Linked DNA regions of Homo sapiens: region 2 is linked to region 1. Evidence: promoter capture Hi-C in human tissues and cell types (Jung and others, 2019). All regions are on one chromosome and are shown on one strand. The core of a region is centred on a gene start or on the middle of the fragment in contact, and the rest is flanking DNA. Distances in the headings are between cores, read along the strand shown. Region 1 holds the start of CALHM3 (calcium homeostasis modulator 3). Region 2 overlaps TAF5 (TATA-box binding protein associated factor 5).

Region 1 (4,711 bases), core at 371-2,870:
TTGAGGGGTGCTCATGACCCTCCCAGCCCAGTTAGCTCCCCGCCTGCTCCACACCAGCCCTGCTGGTTCAGGGTCACGAAGCCTGGCCTTGGGCCAGGACAGTCCCCTTTTCTGGTCAGCAGCCCAGTGGGTGACTAAGGCTGAAAGGCACAGATGGAGGATCCCAGCTTCCTCCCTGGCTCTGTCCCCGCCAGGGTATGTGACCTCCAACAGCCCCTCTGGGACTGTACCCACCTGAAGTTGTGGTGGTCCTCCTGGCTTGAAGGGTTTCTCACCCCTGCCCCGCCCTCTCCTCCGCTCAGAGTCAGACTCACAGGGCCACTGGTGGCTCTCCCCATCTTCTCCAGTGCCTCATTTCCCTCACACAGGGAAATCTGTCTCATAGGACCTAGAGTAACGTACAAATATGGAAAATAAAAATACTAAGTGGCCAGGCTCAGTGGCTCATGCCTGTAATCCCAGCACTTTGGAAGGCCAAGGGGGCCAAATCACCTGAGGTCAGGAGTTCGAGACCGGCCTGACCAACATGGCAAAACCCCTGTCTCTACTAAAAATACAAAAATTAGCTGGGCGTGGTGGTGGGTGCCTGTAATCCCAGCTACTTGGAAGCTGAGGCAGGAGAATCACTTGAACCCGGGAGGCAGAGGCTGCAGTGAACCAAGATCGTGCCACTGCACTCCAGCCTGGGTGACAGAACAAGACTCTATCTCATAATAATAATAATAATAAGTAAGACCCAGGTTTCTGTCTGTCTTCATCAGAAGTACAGACCACACAGATGGTTACGAAATTTGCAAGACTTATTTGGGATGATCTGACTTACAATATGGGCCAAGTGACCTTTACAAAATTCGTTTTGCAGGTTTCAGGGGTCCCTCAAACATCTGGGCTGTCATCCTTCGGAGAGACTGGAACTGAGACACAAGGAGAGACCTAGTGATGTGGGAGAGTTAGGAGAAGAAGCAGTGATTTCAAACGCATGCCCCTCACACGGAAGAAGGGCAGGGGGAAAGCCATGCAGGTGTGGGCGTGGCACTTGAGCAGCCTCTCCCATGGGCACCCAGTGGTTAATGCACAATGTTTAGCACGTCGCCCAGGGAGGCCATCCCCTTCCGCTACCCCTTTCATGGCAAATGCTGAAACATCGTTGAAGACTCCTCTCAAGGGTCTCCTCTTCCAGGAAGCCTTCGGTCAGGAATAGGTGCCCCTTCTGGCTCCTCCTAGCCTGAAAGCCAACATGAAATCTCCCTGGGCTGAGCTGAGTCGTCATATTTTGTTGTTGTTGTTGCTGTTGTTTTACTATGCCTGTGAGACAAGTTCAGAGTCATGCTTTTGATCAAGACCAGAAAATATACTACCTTGGCTCCATCAGCATCTTTTCCTCACCACACCCAGAATTTGCCTGTCCCCCGAAGGAAGCTCCAACGGCTGTCAAGCCTGAGCATCCAGACCGTAAAGCAAAGAGAAATGGGCCGGGAGGAATGGAGTGACAGGGCGGGGCCCATTTGCCTAGAGGTGCTTTGGGCTGCCCGGTCACAGAGGGTGACTCACTCCCCCAGACAGGAGGGGAGTGGCACCAGGGGACCATTGGGCTGGGCAGGGGAGCCTTTGTGGTGAGAGCCTGTCCCTGCCTTAAGTGCCTACTGGATCCCGGGAGCCTGGGCTGGGGCCTGGGCACTGCTTCCTCCTTGGCCCCTCAGGCCCTTGGAAGCAGAGAGAGAACCTCTTGCAGATCCCAGGCTCGTCCCCAGCACAGCAGACACCAGGAAGGTGGCCAGAGCCTCACTGAGCCGAACCGACGGCCGCCCACCCACCCAGGCTGGAGCCATGGATAAATTCCGCATGCTCTTCCAGCACTTCCAGTCAAGCTCGGAGTCGGTGATGAATGGCATCTGCCTGCTGCTGGCTGCGGTCACCGTCAAGCTGTACTCCTCCTTTGACTTCAACTGTCCCTGCCTGGTGCACTACAATGCACTCTACGGCCTGGGCCTGCTGCTGACGCCCCCGCTCGCCCTGTTTCTCTGCGGCCTCCTCGCCAACCGGCAGTCTGTGGTGATGGTCGAGGAGTGGCGCCGGCCCGCAGGGCACCGGAGGAAGGACCCAGGCATCATCAGGTGCGGTCCCACACCACTCAGTGACCCATGAGCTTTGCCAGGGGCTCCCCAGCCACCCCACAGGCACTGTCAAGTGCACCCCCAGACCCCAACCATTCTCATTATCAGGGGATTCTCCACCCACCCTACAGGTACTGCCAGGTGCGCCCTCTCCTTTCCCCAACTAGGAATTATCGGCTCACAGAGAGCCACTTGCCAGTTTCCACTCTGGAAACATATTTCTGTTCCTATCGTTTGTCACCTTTCCGTGGCCAGTGCTGTAAACATAGGAATGACACAGGATTCCCAATTACCCAGGCCACTCTAGGGGCTGCGGGAAAACTTCCTCTTTGCCCTCTGAAGCTCTGCTGAAAATCAACTGACAAAAGGCAGATTAATAAGAGAAAAGGCATACAAATTTATTTGATTACCGTTTTATGTGCCACAGAACCTTCAGAATAAAGACCTAAAGATACAGAGGAAATGGTTCATTTTTATGCTTAGGTTCAACAAGGTTTGGATAGCCACGCAGAAATAGAATTGGATTAAAAAAGGGATGAACTGATGTTATAGACGGAGTGGGGAAACTCAGCAAGGCCATCTAGGTTCTTCTTGGCCTCTCTATACAGTGTTCCTTTCTCCCAGACACGGGGCAGGACCCTCTCTAGAAGGGAGTCTTATGATCTACAATGAAACTAGGTAGGTCAGATCATTTCTTTACGGCCAGTTTTCAGACAGAAAGGCGGGGGGAAATTAGAATCATATTTTTAGGTTTTATGGTGGCAGCTTTGGAGAAAAGGAGTTCTGGTTTCTATGACCCACCTTGGGGAAGATGGATTCTAGTTTCTATGGCTAGCCTTGGGGGAAAATAAGGAGCCAGAGATTGGGTGGGGGGGCCAGGCGCGGTGGCTCTCACCCGTAATCCCAGCACTTTGGGAGGTCGAGGCGAGTGGATCACCTGAGGTCAGGAGTTCGAGACCACTCTGGCCAACATGGCAAAACCCCCATCTCTACTAAAAAATATAAAAAATTAGCTGGGCGTGGTGTTGGGCACCTGTGGTCCCAGCTACTCAGGAGGCTGAGGAAGGAGAATCGCTTGAACCTGGGAGGCAGAGGTTGCAGTGAGCTGAAATCGTGCCACTGCACTCCAGCCTGTGCGACAGAGCAAGACTCAAAAAAGACAAAAAAAGAAAAGAAAATGCTAAAGCCACCACTGCCTAGAACATATTTACAGCTCACACTGGGTAGGCCATGCACGCACACACCTGGCACACACCATTGGATGTTTTGTGTACAATCCAATTCAGAAACAACATCTGCATCCGGTGCACCCTCAGCCTCTGTTCCATGTTCTCAGGGATCACATCTCCCTGCAATTCAGCTGTGCAGGGTGGGTCACAGGCACTGGGTGTGTCCTTGGCCTTTTCCTCTGGGGTCCAGTGGGCACAGCTCCACTGGGCTCCTGTCCTGTGGCCAATACCCAGTCGAGGTCACTACAGGCAGGGGCAGAGTTGATCTGGAAAGGCGCCTGAGGCCGGTCAGAGGGTGGGCTCCTGGGATGCCTTGTGGGTAGGGGTGTTAGAGGTGCTGCTTTTGGAGGGTTACTGGGCAGGGCTGTCTTAGCTTAGGCTCTCCTCCAAAAGCAGGCTCTGAAAGAATGTGATAATGAGTGGGCAACTGGGGCTTAATCCTTCAGGGGACCCCCTAAGGGCATGCATAGAACACATCTCAGAATTTTCCCACTGAGGATTTAAGAAGCTGGGATATTTATCCACAAGGCCCCATCCCTCTGGGGTTGAAGGTTGATTTGGGGGTTAACTTTTCAGTGCTTCCAGCCTACCCCTCTCTGGAGCAAAAAATCCTCCAAAGCCCCAGGGGCAGAACAATGCAGATGCTTGAGGTAGGAGGCCCTCAGGCCCTCCAGGTGAATAGAACCAGCCACTGCACCCACAGATGCCTCTGGCATGGGCAGGGCACCAGCAGTGTCTGCTGTAAGGCCTAGGGCAAGAGGAATACCAAGTCCTCAGTGCTCCAGTCCTGGGGATCCCAGGGGCCCCTGCCCTCCTTTCTGCCTGTCTCTGTCACTGGGACCTCTACACTGGGAGCTGCAGTCTGATGTAACCCAGCCTGGGACTTCCCAGCAGTCCATCCTTGCACCTCCCCTGCTGCAGCTGACTTCCAGCTGCCCCTTGACCCCCCTCCTTCCTCTGCTGCCAGGTACATGTGCTCCTCTGTGCTGCAGAGGGCGCTGGCCGCCCCCCTGGTCTGGATCCTGCTGGCCCTCCTTGACGGGAAGTGCTTCGTGTGTGCCTTCAGCAGCTCTGTGGACCCTGAGAAGTTTCTGGACTTTGCCAACATGACCCCCAGCCAGGTACAGCTCTTCCTGGCCAAGGTTCCCTGCAAGGAGGATGAGCTGGTCAGGGATAGCCCTGCTCGGAAGGCAGTGTCTCGCTACCTGCGGTGCCTGTCACAGGTAACTGGGGTGATCCTCCCCCGGCCCTTGCACCCTCACAAATCCCCCGCATTGGTTCTGGAGTGGGGTGAGGGGGTGGTGAGGAGGGACAGATGATGGGCTCAGCCCATTCCCAGGAGGCAGGGAAGTGCTGGAGACCACTGCT
Region 2 (4,395 bases), core at 272-2,771, 97 kb after region 1:
GAAGCAAACCAATTTTGAATTTCCTTTTTCATTTACTCTTAGTACTTTTGATTATAGAAAGATTAATCCTCAATTACTAGCTAATATGCCATTAATGTCAGGAATTTGTCTTAAATTTGATGAAGCAGCCAGAAGACACAATGCAGGGACCCAATGAAGCAATTCAACCCCTAATGGAGTTCTATAAAACTAAAGCTTTGGTTGGTTATTTACCATTGGGTAACAAATAAAAATAATTAAAAAAAAAAAAGGGAAATACTAAAGCTAATTTTTAAAACCAGTAAGCCCTGAAACTGTGCATTTTGATTCTATAAATTTGAGTATACAGGCCAGGCACAGTGGCTCACGCCTGTAATCCCAGCACTTTGGGAGGCTGAGGTGGGCAGATCACCTGAGGTTGAGAGTTCAAGACCAGCCTGACCAACATGGAGAAACCCCATCTCTAATAAAAAAATAAAATTAGCCAGGTGTGGTGGCGCATGCCTGTAATCCCAGCTACTCAGGAGGCTGAGCCAGGAGAATCGCTTGAACCCAGGAGGCGGAGGTTGCGGTAAGCCAAGATCACGCCATTGCACTCCAACCTGGGCAACAAGAGCGAAACTCTGTCTCAAAAAAAAAAAAAAAAAAGTGAGTATACATTAAATTGCTACCATGTACAAACACCAGGATTCAAAGATGAATTAGCAAATGGCAAGATTCTAAAAGATGATGAACGTCAGACAACCATGAGATTTTTATCAGAATTTTCCCAGCATTTGCATAATGTTTCCAGTAGTTAACTTTTATATAATTTCAATATAACATAGCAGTATTTAATTTTTATTGTTTGTATTTTACCTATCCGGACTGAAGCTGGCTCCGTAGACAGGCCCACTGTGACCATACAAAATCTTCAACTCACTTGCTGTTTTCTCATCCATGATTCTTTCTAAGACATCATCTGATTCTTTGTCTATAAGACTAAGATCTAAAATGGTCCAGAAATATTGATATTTTATAAGTACATTCATCAAAACTTTTAAAGTAATCATATCACAGTGCAGGAGAGGAATTAACATTTGAAAATTTCCTCCTATATACCAACCGCACTTTGCTAATCCCTCTAAATTAGGCAGTATCATCTCAGCGTGTAAGAGAAGAAAATGACGTTCAGAACAGATAATTTGCTAGAGTGCACACAGCTACTCAGTGTGGGAACCAGAACTGAAACTCAGTTTTGCCCACTATGCCACAGTGTTTCACAAAATGAAAACTATGGGCCAGGCATGGTGGCTCACACCTGTAGTCTCAGAATTTTGGTAGGCCAAGGCGGGCAGATTGCTTGAGCCCAGAGGAGTTCGAGACCAGCCTGGACAACATGGAGAAACCCTGTCTCTACAAAAAATAAAAAATTAGCCAGTGTGGTTGCACACACCTGTAGTCTCAGCTACTCAGGAGGCTGAAGTGGGAGGATCACTTCAGCCCAGGGATTAGAGGCTGCAGTGAGCCGTGATCACACCACTGCATTCTAGCCTGGGCAACAGAGTGAGACCCCATCTAAAAAAAATTTAAAATTAAAAAAAAAAAACCTATGGAAATATTGAAATAATTTAAAATATATTGTTTTATTTAAATAATATAGTTAGTAAAAAACTTTATTTCAGGCCGGGTGTGGAGGCAGGAAAATCGCTTGAACCAGGGAGGTGGAGGTTGCAGTGAGCCACCTATAATTCCAGCACTTTGGGAGGCCAGACAGGCGGATCACTTGAGGTCAGGAGTTCGAGACCAGCCTGGCCAACATGGCGAAACCCTATCTCTACTAAAAATACAAAAATTACCTGGGCATGGTGGTGGGCACCTGTAATCCCAGCTACTGGGGAGCTGGGGAGCTGACACAAGAAAATCCCTTGAACCTGGGAGGTAGAGGCTGTAGTGAGCCAAGACTGCGCCATTGCACTCTAGCCTGGGTGACAGGGCGAGACTCTGTCTCAAAAAAACAAAAAGTAAAAAACTTTCAAATAAAATCCTGACCTTATTTGTTCTTTTTAGCCATTTTTATGACTAAAACAGGAAGTACCATCCCTTATTTAAAGATTTTTTAAGATTTACAAGCAATCATAAAATGTTAGATTTTTAACTTTAAGTTTTTTAGCTTAATACTCACTCATTCTACAGATGAGAAAACTGAGACCTAAAGAAATTAAACCAGTCTAGCACCCCAGTCACTCCAAAGCTTTTTTCACTGTTGGGAATGTTAGAATCTTGAGTTAAAGTAAAATCAAGTGAATTTCTGTAAAGAACACAATCTCCTGTGTATTTTCCATGGAATCAAGATTGGTATAGACTAATGGCAAGTTCACATTCCAAAAGGTCATCTCAGTTACCTGATGCTTGTTTGACACTACGAAGCTTTTTGGGTGTTACCGACCACACTCTGACAGTTGAATCTGCAAAACCTCCAGCAATCAGACTAGAATCATCAGTGACATCCACTGCAGTGAGACCCTGCCAATAAAAGGGTTAGACTAAACAATACTATTTTAGGATATTTAGAGATAGGAAGCAAATGTTAATCATTTTCACACTATACTAAATATCTCCTCAATCCTCTATTTTAAGGAATATATAAAGACTTTTAAAATTCTTGATTTAAAATATTGGCCAAGCGCACTGGCTCATGCCTGTAATCCCAACAATTTGGGAGGCTGAGACAGGTGGATCACCTGAGGTTAGGAGTTCAAGACCAGCCTGGCCAACATGGTGAAACCCCATCTCTACTAAAAATACCAAAATTAGCCAAGCAGGGTGGTGGGCACCTGTAATCCCATCTACTTGTGAGGCTGACGCAAGAGAATCACTTGAACCCAGGAGGCAGAGGTTGCAGTGAGCCAAAATCGTGCCACTGCACTCCAGCCTGGGCGACAGAGTGAGACTCCATCTCAAAAAAAAAATAATAATAAAATAAAATACTAAGTTTGGCCGGGCGCGGGGGTTCATGCCTGTTATCACAGCACTTTAGGAGGCTGAGGCGGGTGGATTGCCTGAGCTCAGGAATTCAAGTCCAGCCTGGTCAACCTGGTGAAACCCCTTCTCTACTGAAAATACAAAAATTAGCTGGGCGTGGTGGCTCATGCCTATAATCCCAGCTACTCAGGAGGCTGAGGCAGGAGAATCACTTGAACTGGGAGGCGGAGGTTGCAGTGAGCCAAAATTGCACCACCGCACTCCAGCCTAGGTGTCAGAGCAAGACTCCATCTCAAAAAATGAAATTAAATTAAAATAATAAAATAAAATAAGGTTTATATGGCTGGGCACGGTGGCTCACGCCTGTAATCCCAGCACTTTGGGAGGCTGAGGCGGCCAGATCACTTGAGGTCAGGAGTTCAAGACCAGCCTGGGCAACACGGCAAAATCCTGTCTCTACTAAAAATACAAAAATTAGCCAGGCATGGTGGAGGGTGCCTGTAATCCCAGCTATTCAGGAGGCCGAGGCTGAGGCACAAGAATCGTTTGAACCCGGGAGGCAGAGGTTGCAGTGAGCTGAGATCTCACCTCTGCACTCCACCCTAGGTGACAGCACAAAACTCTGTCTCAAAAAAAAAAAAAAATTGATAAATAAGTTTACGTAAGTACTTAAACCAAGTTCAACAGAAATGAACTACAATTTGCTCCTCCTCAAAGGCTAGCAGAATTCTGATCGGTGAAACAAATGCCATTAAACATTGACTTCTATCTATTCTGTGCAGTATCCAATTCTCTCTTCCTGAATGCTGTCTTTAAATTGTATAAGAGTTTAGGGGCCACATGCGGTGGCTCATGCCTGTAATCCCAGCACTTTGGGAGGCTGAGGCAGGCGGATCACAAGGTCAGGAGATCGAGACCATCCTGGCTAACACGGTGAAACCCCATCTCTACTAAAAATACAAAAAATTAGCCGGGCATGGCGGTATGCGCCTGTAGTCCCAGCTGCTGGGGAAGCTGAGGCAGAAGAATGGCATGAACCTGGGAGGCGGACATTGCAGTGAGCTGAGATCGCGCCACTGCACTCCAGCTGGGCGACAGAGCGAGACTCTGTCTCAGAAAAAAAAAAAAAAGGAGTTTAAATAACGAAACTCCATTTTAGCTAATACATTTGTTTCTCTCTTAATGGTAAATCATCATCCTACATGACTCTCCAGGCAGAAATCGCCCAATTTTTTTACCAACCTGGTAAGCATTGAGAAATGTATAGAAACAAATGGAGGGTAAGCAGTCCGGCCCAAGGCGCACTCGTTTGGTGGTTTCTTTCATATTCATTATCTTATCCAACTTATCTGAATCTTTCAACTCAGGAAGAGGGATTCTGTGAAAGAAAAAGAGAGTCAAAATTACCTTTTGACTATTAACAAACTTGAACTCTATATAACATGTTGTCTT

The links. The method cuts DNA at HindIII sites, captures the fragments that hold promoters and counts their contacts. A contact is called where the count stands out against the background at its distance.
Region 2: a fragment that was not itself captured here is called in contact with the fragment with the promoter of CALHM3 in region 1 in 2 of the 25 tissues and cell types used here (H1 embryonic stem cells and liver).

The regions. Positions count from the first base shown.
Region 1 is chr10:103,476,149-103,480,859 of GRCh38, reverse strand. It overlaps CALHM3 (calcium homeostasis modulator 3), which reads left to right and starts at 1,620. Exons shown (of 3, transcript NM_001129742.2): 1 at 1,620-2,114; 2 at 4,311-4,566. The coding sequence starts at 1,828. NEURL1-AS1 (NEURL1 antisense RNA 1) reads left to right here. Exons shown (of 4, transcript NR_120675.1): 4 at 863-1,257. RefSeq lists enhancers at 3,062-3,956, 3,957-4,711. The HindIII fragment of the contact is 15,318 bases long and covers 1-4,711 here.
Region 2 is chr10:103,379,810-103,384,204 of GRCh38, reverse strand. TAF5 (TATA-box binding protein associated factor 5) reads right to left here. Exons shown (of 11, transcript NM_006951.5): 5 at 4,186-4,321; 6 at 2,364-2,484; 7 at 838-967. Among named protein-coding and RNA genes, the nearest start is that of MIR1307, 12 kb to the left of the region's middle. The HindIII fragment of the contact is 4,253 bases long and covers 1-3,647 here.